Regions from separate parts of the Homo sapiens genome. Here all the other regions are linked to region 2. The links are contacts of gene promoters, found by promoter capture Hi-C in blood cells and fetal thymus (Javierre and others, 2016). All regions are on one chromosome and are shown on one strand. Each heading gives the region's core, a stretch centred on a gene start or on the middle of the fragment in contact. The rest is flanking DNA. Distances are from core to core; before and after follow the strand shown.

Region 1 (3,113 bases), core at 178-2,677, 640 kb after region 2:
ACTGGCGGTGGTTGGATTACCGTTTAAGTGGCACTGACTTGCTGTTCTTTAATTATGTCAAATGCTTTTCAACTTCTGGGCCTTTTCTCATGTTTAATGTGAACGAAGTTCTTTCCCACTCAAGTTTCAACTCGTAATAACAATAAAAGCTTCACATTTATTGAGTGCCTTGTGCTAAGATTTTTGATGCATTAACTGTGAATTCTTATTTGTCCTATGAGCTACCTATTATTATCATTATTATTTCCCCCCACTGTACAGATAAGGAGATGGAGGATTAGAGAGGTCAAGTCACAAAACCAGTGAGGTACAAAGTCAGCATTAAACTGAGCTGGCCTGATTCTGGAGCCCAAGCAATCAACCAACATGCTGGGCCCCTCTCTGTGAAACCTCCCCCATTTGCTTTCAAGTTGAAATTAATCACTCTTGCTTACACCTCTACTCTAACATTTTTTCCCGTTGGTTTTCATTCATGTCAGCTTCCCACGCTAGGCTTTAAGCTTCTGAGTACAGTGAATTTGTCTGCTCACACTAATCACAGGAAGCAGAGCTCATTCGCATCTTTGCATTACCACTATCTTTTATGCTTACTTCATGATATGTTTTAATTATTTATTCTTGTCAGCATCCTCTACTAAACCATACAATGTTCAGAGTTATCTTACCAAAGATGCTTTTATTTATTTAATTGAATAAGCATTTCTATAGCATGTATAATGAGCCAGGTACTATTCCAAGAATTTTAAAACCTCGCAAATAGACCTATAGATATTATTTTATCCCTCTTTAAACTGTGAGGAAACTAAGGCATAGAGAGGTTGCAGTAAGTTGCAGGACCAGAATTCCAAACCAAGCAACCTGCCTGGCTCCAGAATCTATTTCTGAGCCACCATGCTATGTTGATTTTCCACAATACCATGTGTTCTTCCTACTTAGAACACTTCACTGCAGGGAGATCAATCCATAATGGCCAATTAGAAGCCCCTGCCCGCAGCACTCAGGGAGGAATGAGAAGGGGCAAGTGAATTCAGTACCTTCAACTGAAATATCCAGGTTCTCTCATTGGGACTGACTAGGCAAACCACCGGCCCATGGAGAATGAAGAAAAGTTGGGCAGGGTGGGGAGCCCACCTCGGAGCAGCACAGAGCCAAAGGAACCTCCACCCTCAGCCAAGGGAAGTGGTGAGTGATTGTGCAACCCAGGAAACCATGCTTCTCCCATGAATCTTTGCAACCTGTGGATCAAGAGACCCCCTCATGACTCCACACCACCAGGGCCTTGAGTCTGATACACAGAGCTGTGTGTTGTCTTGACAGAGCAGCCACTCAGGCACATACAAAGAGGCCCAGAAGTTTTACATACTCTGGCCACAATCATCAGCAAGGCAGGAAATCCATCTGTAGGAAGGGGGCTGAATCCAGGGAGCCAAGCAATACCATTCTTCAGGCCCCACTTACATGACACCCCACAAGTTAAGACCCACCAGCTTGGAATCCCAGCCAGCCAATGGCAGTGGATAGGAGTCTGCCTGAGACAGGTTTGAGTTCCCAGCAGGTGGGGCAGCTGCCGTCTCTGTGATTCAGCCGACTCAGCTGCTGCAGCCTCCTGGATGTGGAGAATACAGACGGTCTAAACTAGGAAGGGTTCCCTCTGCTACAATGCAGCACACCTGCCCTACCAAAAAGCAGCCAGACTGCTTCTGTAAGCGGGACCCCAAGTCATTCCTCCTCGCTAGAGAGGACCTCCTTAAGCCCCTCCAGCAACTGTTTTATGAACAGAGCTCTGATCTCTCCCTGGGACAGAGCTCCTGGAGGGAGGGGAGGCCATCATCTCTGCAGTTCAGTAGACTCAGCCATTCAAGCCTGCCAGCTGTGGATAATACAGATGGACCATACAAGGAAGGGTCCCCCACAATGTAGCACAGCTGCCTTGCCAAATTGCAGCCAGACTGCTTCTTTAAGTGGGACCCCAATCCATTCCTCCTCATGGGTGGGTCCTCCCTGCAGGAGCTTCAGTCACTCCAGCCAGGGCGCTATGGAGAGAGCTCTGATATCTCCCTGGGACAGGTTGCCTTGGAGAGGGACAACCACCATCTTTATGGTTCAGTGGACTCAGCTGATCCAGCCTACCAGCTGTGGAGAATACAGGTGGTCCAGACTATGAGGGCCCCACCCACCCCCACTCCCAGTACAGCACACCTGCTCTACAAAAAGCAGCCAGACTACTTCTTTGGGTGGGTCCCTAATCCCGTTCCTCCTGACTGGGTGAAACCTCCCAATGGGGGTCTCTAACCACCTGCTGCAGGTGTATGAGGGCTGGCAACAGATCAGAAACCACCCAAGATGAAGCTTCCAGAGGAAGAAGCTGGCTGCCATCTTTGCTGTTTTGTGGCCTTCACTAGTGATACCTCCAGATACAGGAAAAAGTGAGGCAACTGGGGTCTGGAGCGGATCTCCAGCAAACTGCAGCAGTCAAGTGGCCTGACTGTTAAGAGAAAAACAAACAAAACAACAACAACACCATCAACAAAAAAGACCCCACAAAAACCTCATTCAAAGTCAACAACCTCAAAGATTAAAGGTAGATAAGCCCACAAAGATGAGAAAGAATCAACGCAAAAATGCTGAAAACCCAAAAAGCCAGAGTGCGTTTTCTCCTGCAAATGACCACAACCCCTCCCCAGCAAGGGCACAGAACTGGACTGAGGCTGAGATGGCTGAACTGACAGAAGTATGCTTCAGAAGGTGGGTAACAACGAACTTTCCTGAGCTAAAGAAGCATGTTGTAACCCAATGCAAAGAAGCTAAGAAACATAATAAAACAATACTGGAGCTGATAGCCAGATAACAAGAATAGGTGAGAAAGGAATATAACTGACCTGATGGAGCTGAAAAACACAACACAAGAGCTTCACAATGCAATCACAAGTATCAATAGCAGAATAGACCAAGTGGCGGAAAGAATCTCAGAGCTTGAAGACTATCTTTCTGAAATAAGACCAGCAGACAAGAATAGAGCAAAAAAGAATAAAAAAGAATGAACAAAACATCCAAGAATATGGGATTATGTAAAAAGACAACCTACAACTGATTGGGGTACCTGAAAGAGACAA
Region 2 (3,063 bases), core at 539-3,038:
TAAATAGGATGGTCATTGAGAAGGTGACATTTAAGCAAAGTGTGAAGGCAGCTGGCCAAGGCCACCAACCACATTGGGAAAGAGCATTTAAGGTAGAAGGAAGAGCCAGTGCAAAGGCTCTGAGGCAGGAGTTTACCTAGTGAGTTTAAGAACAGCAAGGAAGCCAGTGTAGCTAGAGGTGGGAGAGAGGAGAGAGAAGATGAGGTCAGAGAGGTAACTCATGTAGTGGCAGATAGAAGACTTGCCAGATCATACAGGGCCTTGCAGGCTATTCTAGAGCTTTTGAGAAAATGAGGAATCACTTGTATTAGGCCGGCTTAAAATAGGGCCATCTGTATAAAAATAATTCCTCTTTAAATTGTTTCCTTAAACTTAGGGGTGTATACAAATCACCCAGGATCTTGTTAAAATTCAAATTCTGACTTAGTAGGTCTGGGGAAAGGCCTGAGATTCTGCATCTTTAACAAGCTTTCAGGTGATATCAGGCTGCTGGTCCACAACCACACTTTGAGTAATGAGGTCCCGGGGCTTTTGGGCTTATCTCTCCACTAGCTGGTTACAAGGGCCTTTTTGTTCCCTTTGAGCCTGAAAAGACCACCTCAAAAGGTTTTTCTTTATATTTTTACATTAGCCACAGGTCCCCTCACTGTTCATGGTCCTATTACCTCACTAGTAAGAGCGTGGTCCAGGGCTGCCTCCGGGACTGTGGGGGAGGTTGTCCGGCTGTTTCCATGCACAGTGTAAGAAGTTTCTAGGGCTTCTGCAGTGCCACGTGGAGGCTCTGCTTCTGAACCTCAATCTGCTCCCTGAATAATAATTTCACCTCTCACCACATTCTTGTCTTACTCCAATTACAGGAGCTCTAATACAGGTCTTCACTTCTGGTCCTATACCTAGAGTGATAGTCCAGATCTGTAAACTGAGGCAGCTGGGGGACTCGGGTGATGTTCCCAGGCAGAAGAGGTGGTCAGGTGGTCCACGGAAGCCTGTTTGTTAAGGAGCAAGGCTGATTTCTTAAGAGCCAGCCCAGTAATTGACAGTGGAACAAGTCTGGAAGGACTTGCCATTTCCAAATATAAGGCATAGGATACGGAGTCCCATGGGCTTGAGTTTGAATTGTGCTTCCATCCCTTACTGTGTAACCTGGGGAATGTGCCCGGGTGTCTCTGAGATGCAGTTTTCTTATCTCGAAAATGGGAATGATATCAACACCTCCTTTGTAAATTGAGATAATGCATTTAAAGCACCTAGTAAAGTGCCTGGCACAAATGATACAAAATACTAGTTGCCATTATTTTTATAATTTCTACTATCATCTTACTGCGTACCAAATCGCTTTGACGCCCGGCATTATAGCATCCACCTTTACGTTCTCTGGAGTTAAGGTACCAGAGCAAATCCCTCAGCAAAGGTGTTCAAAGAGAGACACACACGCCCGAGCACTTTCTTCATGACAGATGCCACAAGAGATAACTGGAGGAGCTGAAGATGTTTAGTTTAGAAAACAGGTGATGGGGGACAGGTGGTGATGGCTCTTAGCGTTGCCTTGTTCAACGAGACCCTGAGAGCACGATGAGCCCGCGCGGAAGAGATGAAATGGCAGCACCCCCGCGAGCGCATATCAGAGAAACTCGCCGAGACCTAAAGCGAGTCCGCGCGAGATGGGGGTGGGAGCGCCCGCGGGGGTCGTCTCCTGCGCAGCCGCAGCGGCGGCGCCAATCACCGGGCGCATCACGTCCTCTCGCGACGGTACAGTTGTACGTTCGTGACGTCGGCGGTTGCCGTGGAGAGACCCGCTCGGTCCCGACCGAGAGCTGGCGTCAGGAGCCGCAGGGTCACAGCGTGTCTTTGAAGCTGCCTCCGCCGCCACCATGAGCGGCCGAAGTCGGGGTCGAAAGTCCTCCCGCGCCAAAAACCGGGGCAAAGGCCGCGCCAAAGCCCGAGTCCGCCCTGCTCCGGACGACGCCCCGCGCGACCCGGACCCTTCACAGTACCAGAGTCTCGGGGAAGACACCCAGGCGGCACAGGTGCAGGCTGGCGCGGGGTGGGGTGGCCTGGAAGCCGCTGCGTCCGCGCAGCTCCTCCGGCTCGGGGAGGAGGCCGCCTGCCGGCTCCCCCTGGACTGTGGCCTCGCGCTGCGGGCCCGAGCTGCGGGGGACCACGGGCAGGCCGCGGCCAGGCCCGGCCCGGGGAAGGCCGCATCTCTCTCGGAGCGCCTGGCCGCAGACACTGTCTTCGTGGGAACAGCGGGAACCGTGGGAAGGCCGAAAAATGCCCCCCGCGTTGGAAACCGGCGTGGCCCTGCCGGGAAGAAGGCCCCAGAAACCTGTAGCACCGCGGGGAGGGGGCCTCAGGTCATAGCTGGTGGGAGGCAGAAGAAAGGGGCGGCAGGGGAGAATACCTCGGTGTCAGCTGGGGAGGAAAAGAAGGAAGAGAGGGATGCAGGGTCGGGGCCCCCAGCGACGGAAGGCAGCATGGATACGCTGGAGAACGTGCAGCTGAAGCTGGAGAACATGAACGCCCAGGCGGACAGGGCCTACCTTCGGCTCTCCAGGAAGTTTGGGCAGTTGCGACTGCAGCACTTGGAGCGCAGGAACCACCTCATCCAAAATATCCCGGGCTTCTGGGGGCAAGCATTTCAGAACCATCCCCAGCTAGCATCCTTTCTGAATAGCCAAGAGAAAGAGGTACTGAGCTACTTAAACAGCTTGGAAGTGGAAGAGCTCGGCCTTGCCAGATTGGGCTACAAAATCAAGTTCTACTTCGATCGCAACCCGTATTTCCAAAATAAGGTGCTCATCAAGGAATATGGGTGTGGTCCTTCTGGCCAGGTGGTGTCTCGTTCTACTCCAATCCAGTGGCTCCCAGGGCATGATCTCCAGTCCCTAAGCCAGGGAAACCCAGAAAACAACCGTAGTTTCTTTGGGTGGTTTTCAAACCACAGCTCCATTGAGTCTGACAAGATTGTGGAGATAATCAACGAAGAATTGTGGCCCAATCCCTTGCAGTTCTACCTTTTGAGTGAAGGGGCTCGTGTAGAGAAAGGAAAGGAAAAAGAAGGCA
Region 3 (3,151 bases), core at 501-3,000, 780 kb after region 2:
GAGAGGACGTGGGGAACCAGAAGGGCCAGAAACAGCCGCACTCCCTGAGACCCCAGAGGGCACTGAGGCTGCAGACGAAATCTGGGGTGCTCAAGCTTCCACCTGGCCCGACAGAGCTCCTGGCGCCCAGGTGGAGGCAGCTGCGGACGAGAGGAGGCCAAGGAGGCAGTTCCCTTTAGAGGGCGCTCATTGGGCGACGTGGGGAAACAAGCTCCAGCCCCCGAAGCGCGACCAAAAGGAGAAATCAAGTTCCCACCGCCAGGGCGGGGGAGGGAAGCTGGGTGCCGGCAGGCGCTCCGCCGGAGACGAGACTCCTCCCGGCCCCAGAAGCGCCCCGCCAGGGCCAGAGAGGGCGAGCGTGGCGGGAGGGAAGCCTCTGTCCCCCAGCGGCCAGGCGACCCGAAGCCGAGCGCCGTGTCACACGTACCCCGCCTCGCCCTGCTTGCGGCACTCCCGTGTAACTCCTATGAAAATGTCCTCCCGTCCCTGACGCCCCGCGGTGCAACCTCCACCCCTCAACGAGGAGGGGGTCGCCGCAGGACTGGGAATCCAGTGGCCGGCGTCCCAGCATTTTCGGACGCGTTCCGTGCCTCCCCCAGTATCCCCTTGAGGGATCGCCTACTGCGATTCCACGTAGTGTCGGTTACCTCGCCCTAGCCGCAGGGAGCATCAAACAAAAGAACTTTTGCAAACTTTTCTCTCTGGACACTCGCGGGTCTCTTAAATCTGGCCCCCATCTCCCCAGAACTTGCATGCAGTCAAACAGGAAAGCTGGCGCGGGGGGGATGGTGTGCGGAGGAAGGGACCCCGAAGTTTCCAGGTCATCCCTGGTCTCGAGGAGCGCGCGGAGTGGAGCCGTTCCCTCGCGGGCCCGACCCAGGCTCCCCCCTCCTGCCACCCTTTCCCCTCCGTCCTTCCCAGACCACGCAGCAAGACCCGCCGAGGGCGAAGAAGTTGGGAGTGACTTCAGGGGCCTCTGCGGCTAGACCAAACCGCAATTCTCGGTGCCCCCATTCCCGCGGACCGCGGGGTAACGCCAGCGAGCAGCGCTTTTCTGAGGAAGGGAAGAGGGGGAAAGGGTGACCGGACGAGCGCATTTGTCCCAGCGGATCTCCGGTGTATACTTGGGGACTGGGGGTTCCCCAGGTGGCGCTCCCCTATTCCCTGCGGGCTCCTCTCGTAGCTTCAAACACCCTAAACGGCGCGCGCATCCTCCGCCTGGCCCACTCACCGACTCCGCCGACACGCAGGCCACCAAGCCCAAGGTGAGCAGGATCCACGCGCGCCGCATATTCCCCAGGGACCGGCTGCTCCCAGCCGCTGCTTGCAACCAGGGCAAAACGAAGCCTCCTGCCCAGCGCTCGGCGCAGCCCGCGCACACGAATCCGGAGCAGAGTACCGCAGCGATTGCGGCTCAGGCTCGGGGACTCGGGCTCGGGGCTCGGGGGCGCTCGCTTCCTCCTCCTGCGCCTGCTCCCGCCGCCCGCAGCTGCGCCCCGGGAACGCGGCGCCCTCTCACTTGTTGGTTTCTGCACTCCCGACACGGAGTTGGTGCTCCGGGAAGGCTGCTCTCTGAAGCTCTTCTTGCTCTGCTGTGGTTTTGCTCCTCCGCGGACTCCTTTCCCGTGCCGAGGTTCAGTTTCTGGTTTTAAGGAATAAATTCGCTGGCTTGAAAGGGAGCTACGGCAGAAGTTTAGGGGCAGAGCGGCGGGAGCGCGCGATCCGCGCGGCTGGAGCTCCGGGGGTATCTGGAGAGCAGCGCGTCCAAGCGGGGCCACTGGCTCCGCGGCTGCGCCCCTCCTCCTCCCGCGCCGCGCCTCCCTCCCCGGGTCCTCCTCCTTCTCCTCCTCTTCTTTTCCTCTGGCTCCCTCCCTCCTGAGCCTGCTTCTCCGGGCTCCCCTGGGCGACTGGGGAGAGGAGGCGGCAGTGTGACTCCCAGATAAACCCGGGAGAAATTCCTACAGGATTACACGCCGATTGGCAGCTCCGAGGACCAGTGGGCGCCGCGGCTCCGCGCTGTGGCTGCGCCGGCTCTGCTCACCGGCAAGCCAGGGCTCCTGCGTTTTCTCAGTCCTTTTCTTCCTTTCTCTCCCCACTTTTCCTCTCTCCTCTATGCTCTTTTCTTCCCCGTTGTCTTTTCTCTTTCCCTTCTTCACTTTCCCTTTTCTAGAGAACAATTAGTGAAGAAACGAGAGACGTATGTAGCTTTTCTGCCTTGAGAATTCGACCAGTAGAAAGAAACTGCTTTGTGAGTTGAGGGAAAAAAAAAGTGTAAGATGCTTTCAAGCAATGTGAAGTGTTCATAAATCGCCAGTTCATGAAAATTGCATTTTAAAAGAGAAGATAATTAATGTAATAAATATATAGTGAGAGTGTTTCCCATTCTCCCAAATCCTTCCGCACCCCCAAAAAAGGGACATGGAGGAAGGATCCTGTAAACCCAAAGTGCAACAGTTTGAAAGCTCCTAACTTCATTAAGGGCTTAAATACCATTTCTCCCTCACACACAGTTTATGCCACTAAGGCTTTTTATAGGCTCCATTTTAGCAGATAGGTGTTAACGTTTGGAAGCTACAAATAGGGTAATTTGATGAGAAGTTGGATAGAGACCCTGAATAATAACAGATTTAAGATAACTTCAAAGAAAAGAGGGATAAAGTAATTCTTAGTTTGAAGAAAATAATGAACATGTATTTCCTAAATGGAAGTAGCTGACATGAAATATTTTGTTACAATGTCTGTGGCATATTATAGAACATGGCAAATGCGTATTCCCTTCCAGTTTCTTTTTCTTACTGTCACAAATTTTACACACAAATCCCTTGCAGTTCGTGCCATCATTTTTCTCTCTGACTTATAGAGTAAATGAATTATGACGCCATTCTGCTCCTGGAATGCCCACTACAGGAAACCAGAGACTTTTCTGTCTGTTCACCATTGTATTCTCATTCCTGGTACATAAAGACACATGATAAATATTATCTTGAATAAATTTTGCTCTAAAGCTCAATTTATACCGTATAAGAGTTGTGAGCCTTTAAAATACACCAATGTAGATATATAGATATGAGGCCATGGTAATTTTTCAACTCAGTATTAGAATAAAATACAGTCATACCCTCAGTGAGAATTAAATGTCTTAGTAACCTAT
Region 4 (2,838 bases), core at 52-2,551, 770 kb before region 2:
GCTCACCTCGGACTTCCAAAATGTTTGGATTACAGGCGTGAGTCACCGCATTCGGCCTGAATCAACTTTAATTGTGAAGAGACCTAAGTTACCTGGGCTCTGGTCCTAGCTCTGACAATAGGCCTAGATATGTAAAATGGACAATAAAAAGGTTACTATCTCATGGGACTTTTGTGAGTATTAAATAAATATATGTAAATGATTCCTGGTACAGCACGCGTTTTTTGGTGAGGCTTAATTAAGGAGGGGAAGAGGTTTCCCTCATATAGCTTATCCACTGGTCTGATTGATTAGGTGGGGATTTTCAGCGCCTAATATCTTCAGTGGTCTGTCTCTGGACATTTATACCAAGATCCAACGTTAACAGCAAAAATACTTTTAAAAAATTAGACCTGTTTATCGCGCTCTCAGTGCAAACTCGGCTCACAAGTTCACGCTAACACAGTCACAAAAGGCGAGTTTTGGGAAACTCGAGCAGGGCGCCACCGTTCTCCAGGGGACAGGTAACTTGGGTGACCGCAGGGGTGAGGACACAGCTGCTTCTACCAAGCGGAGAGTAAATGCGGGTGCTGCGGCGCATCGGAGTCACCCACAAGGCTCTCCAAGAGCCGCGCCTCAGGACAAAGATGAATTCAGCGGCATTGAGACCGTGGTCGCAGCCGCCGCAGCCTCTTCTCATCTACCCTCCCACCTCACCTTCAGTCGGCTTTTCGAACTCCCTCCGGGTTCTAAGCGCCTCGATTAGTTAGACCGCAGCTCGCAGCAGAACAGCAACACAACGCCGCGAAGCTTAAAGGCCCGCAGAGGGGGAAAAGAACACCCCCGCCGTCATTCTTTTTTTTCCTTCTTTGAGACAGAGTCTCACTCTGTCGCCCAGGCTGAGTGCAGTGGCGCGATCATGGCTCACTGCAGCCTCGACCTACCGAGCTCAAGCGACCTCTCCGCCTCAGCCTCCGGCGTAGCTGGGAGTAGCTAGGACTACTGGAGCGCGCCACCACGCCCGGCTAATTTCTTTTTTATTTCTTTTTTATTTTTTTGTAGAGACAGGGGTGGTCTATGTTGTCCAGGCTGGCCTTGAGCTGGACGCAACAGATCTTCCCGCCTCAACCTCCGAAAGTGCTGGGATTAAAGGTATGAGCAGCCGCGTACGGCCCCCGCAGCCATTCTAGCTAGCGGTACCAATAGCAACCGGCAGCTGCCCTCCGCTTTTGCTCCGCCCCTTCTGCTTGCGATCTGTTTCCGCTTCCGGTCCCGCAGTTCCGGCTCTGCCGTGAAGAGCTTTGCATTGTGGGAAGTCTTTCCTTTCTCGTTCCCCGGCCATCTTAGCGGCTGCTGTTGGTGAGTGGGCTCCTACCGACCGAGGTTTAGGCAGCGCGGGGAGCTTTGCGGGTTGCCATTTGTAACTCCGGATCCTAAAATTCCTGTCCTGTTCTCTGTCTCTTCTAGGTTGGGGGCCGTCCCGCTCCTAAGGCAGGAAGATGGTGGCCGCAAAGAAGACGGTGAGTGAGGCGGGCCAGGCCCGGAAGACGATTCACGTGGAGAGATGTCTTGGCCAGGGCGGGCAGATGTGAGCCCACGGGGGTGACAGCATGCCTGCTGGCATTTGGAGGGCCCCAGAAGGAATCCCAGTGGCCCTCTCAATGACTTGGGGTCCTCGACTTCGGAAGTTTAAGGGGCTCGGCTTCAAAAAGCTGGGTCCGGTTTTGAGGCGGTTGCAGGCGAGGCCCTTAGGTCCGTATTTAATGTTTGCTTTGTAGAAAAAGTCGCTGGAGTCGATCAACTCTAGGCTCCAACTCGTTATGAAAAGTGGGAAGTACGTCCTGGGGTACAAGCAGACTCTGAAGATGATCAGACAAGGCAAAGCGAAATTGGTCATTCTCGCTAACAACTGCCCAGCTTTGAGGTAATCGAAGAGACTGAACGGGCTTCGCCTACCGCGAATTCATCGTGAACGAATATACAGGAGTGTAAACTTGTAATCTGAGTACCATGAACTCGAACACTTGCAGGATAATTACGGTAGCGATTGTGGTGTTTGGCCCTTCATTCCCGTCTCCCCGACCCACCCCCAAATCGTGTGCTCCCCTTCTGTGAGCTTATTTTTGGAGGAGAAATGTGTGTGTGTGGCAGGAGTGAAAACAGAACATCGAGGTTTAATGGAAACACAGACACATTACTGTTTTTTCCATGTATTTTGTGTCCTGCTTTTTTGGTTCTTTTAGCTTTGAGGTGCTTTAATGATGCTTCATTGTGTGAACTTGTTTTAGTGTCAAAAAACTAGGTAAGAAAAGTTGAGGCTGGGCTATGGAGTTGCAGGCTATCATAGAATCACCTAGTTTAGCCCGCTAAATCAGTTCTGAGTCAAGATTTATGCTTGACTCACTGTTTTGAAATTGAACTTAGGGGGTGTTGTAAATAAGCCAAACAAACTTGGACCTTGCAGAGTATAAGCTATGTGAGCAAATTTTCTGTGGTGATGCATAAGCTGCTTACAGCATTTTATATAGGGTGTCTGTAGTTACCGTCAAAGCCTGGAGGGCCCTTTCTGTCTTGTCCCATGGGTTCGGCTTTTCCCTAACCATTCTTTGAAACTTTCTTTAAAGCCTGTCTTCTATAGTAGTGCTTCTGAAACATGACTGTGCAAAGGAGTCACATGGGTGATGTTAAAATGCAAGTTCTGATTTCATTGGATCTGGGATGGGGCCCGAGGTGCCATTTATTATTTTATTTTTTTTAAGACAGAGTTTTGCTCTTGTCACCCCGGCTGGAGTGCAATGGCACAATCTAAGCTCACTGCAACCTCTGCCTCCCAGGTTCAAGCAATTCTGCCTCACCCTC

The links. Contacts are between HindIII fragments. The CHiCAGO score rates a contact against its expected background, and 5 or more counts as called.
Region 1: a fragment that was not itself captured here is called in contact with the fragment with the promoter of TSPYL5 in region 2 in 1 of 17 cell types (naive B cells); the score reaches 5.3 in naive B cells.
Region 3: the fragment with the promoter of SDC2 here is called in contact with the fragment with the promoter of TSPYL5 in region 2 in 2 of 17 cell types (neutrophils and M0 macrophages); the score reaches 7.0 in neutrophils.
Region 4: a contact is called between the fragment with the promoter of RPL30 here and the fragment with the promoter of TSPYL5 in region 2, in 1 of 17 cell types (fetal thymus). The highest score is 5.7, in fetal thymus.

Annotation. Positions count from the first base shown.
Region 1 is chr8:96,640,786-96,643,898 of GRCh38, reverse strand. No RefSeq gene overlaps it. Among named protein-coding and RNA genes, the nearest start is that of CPQ, 2.9 kb to the left of the region's middle. The HindIII fragment of the contact is 1,849 bases long and covers 503-2,351 here.
Region 2 is chr8:97,276,653-97,279,715 of GRCh38, reverse strand. It overlaps TSPYL5 (TSPY like 5), which reads left to right and starts at 1,788. Exons shown (of 1, transcript NM_033512.3): 1 at 1,788-3,063. The coding sequence starts at 1,872. The region is part of intron 2 of LOC101927066 (a long non-coding RNA gene); the gene reads left to right. RefSeq lists an enhancer at 2,250-2,751. The HindIII fragment of the contact is 4,352 bases long and covers 471-3,063 here.
Region 3 is chr8:96,492,412-96,495,562 of GRCh38, reverse strand. It overlaps SDC2 (syndecan 2), which reads right to left and starts at 1,750. Exons shown (of 5, transcript NM_002998.4): 1 at 1,232-1,750. The coding sequence starts at 1,291. The HindIII fragment of the contact is 13,490 bases long and covers 98-3,151 here.
Region 4 is chr8:98,044,008-98,046,845 of GRCh38, reverse strand. RPL30 (ribosomal protein L30) reads left to right here and starts at 1,301. Exons shown (of 5, transcript NM_000989.4): 1 at 1,301-1,338; 2 at 1,447-1,499; 3 at 1,758-1,903. The coding sequence starts at 1,479. RefSeq lists enhancers at 920-969, 990-1,049, 217-1,153, 1,220-1,369. The HindIII fragment of the contact is 12,210 bases long and covers 792-2,838 here.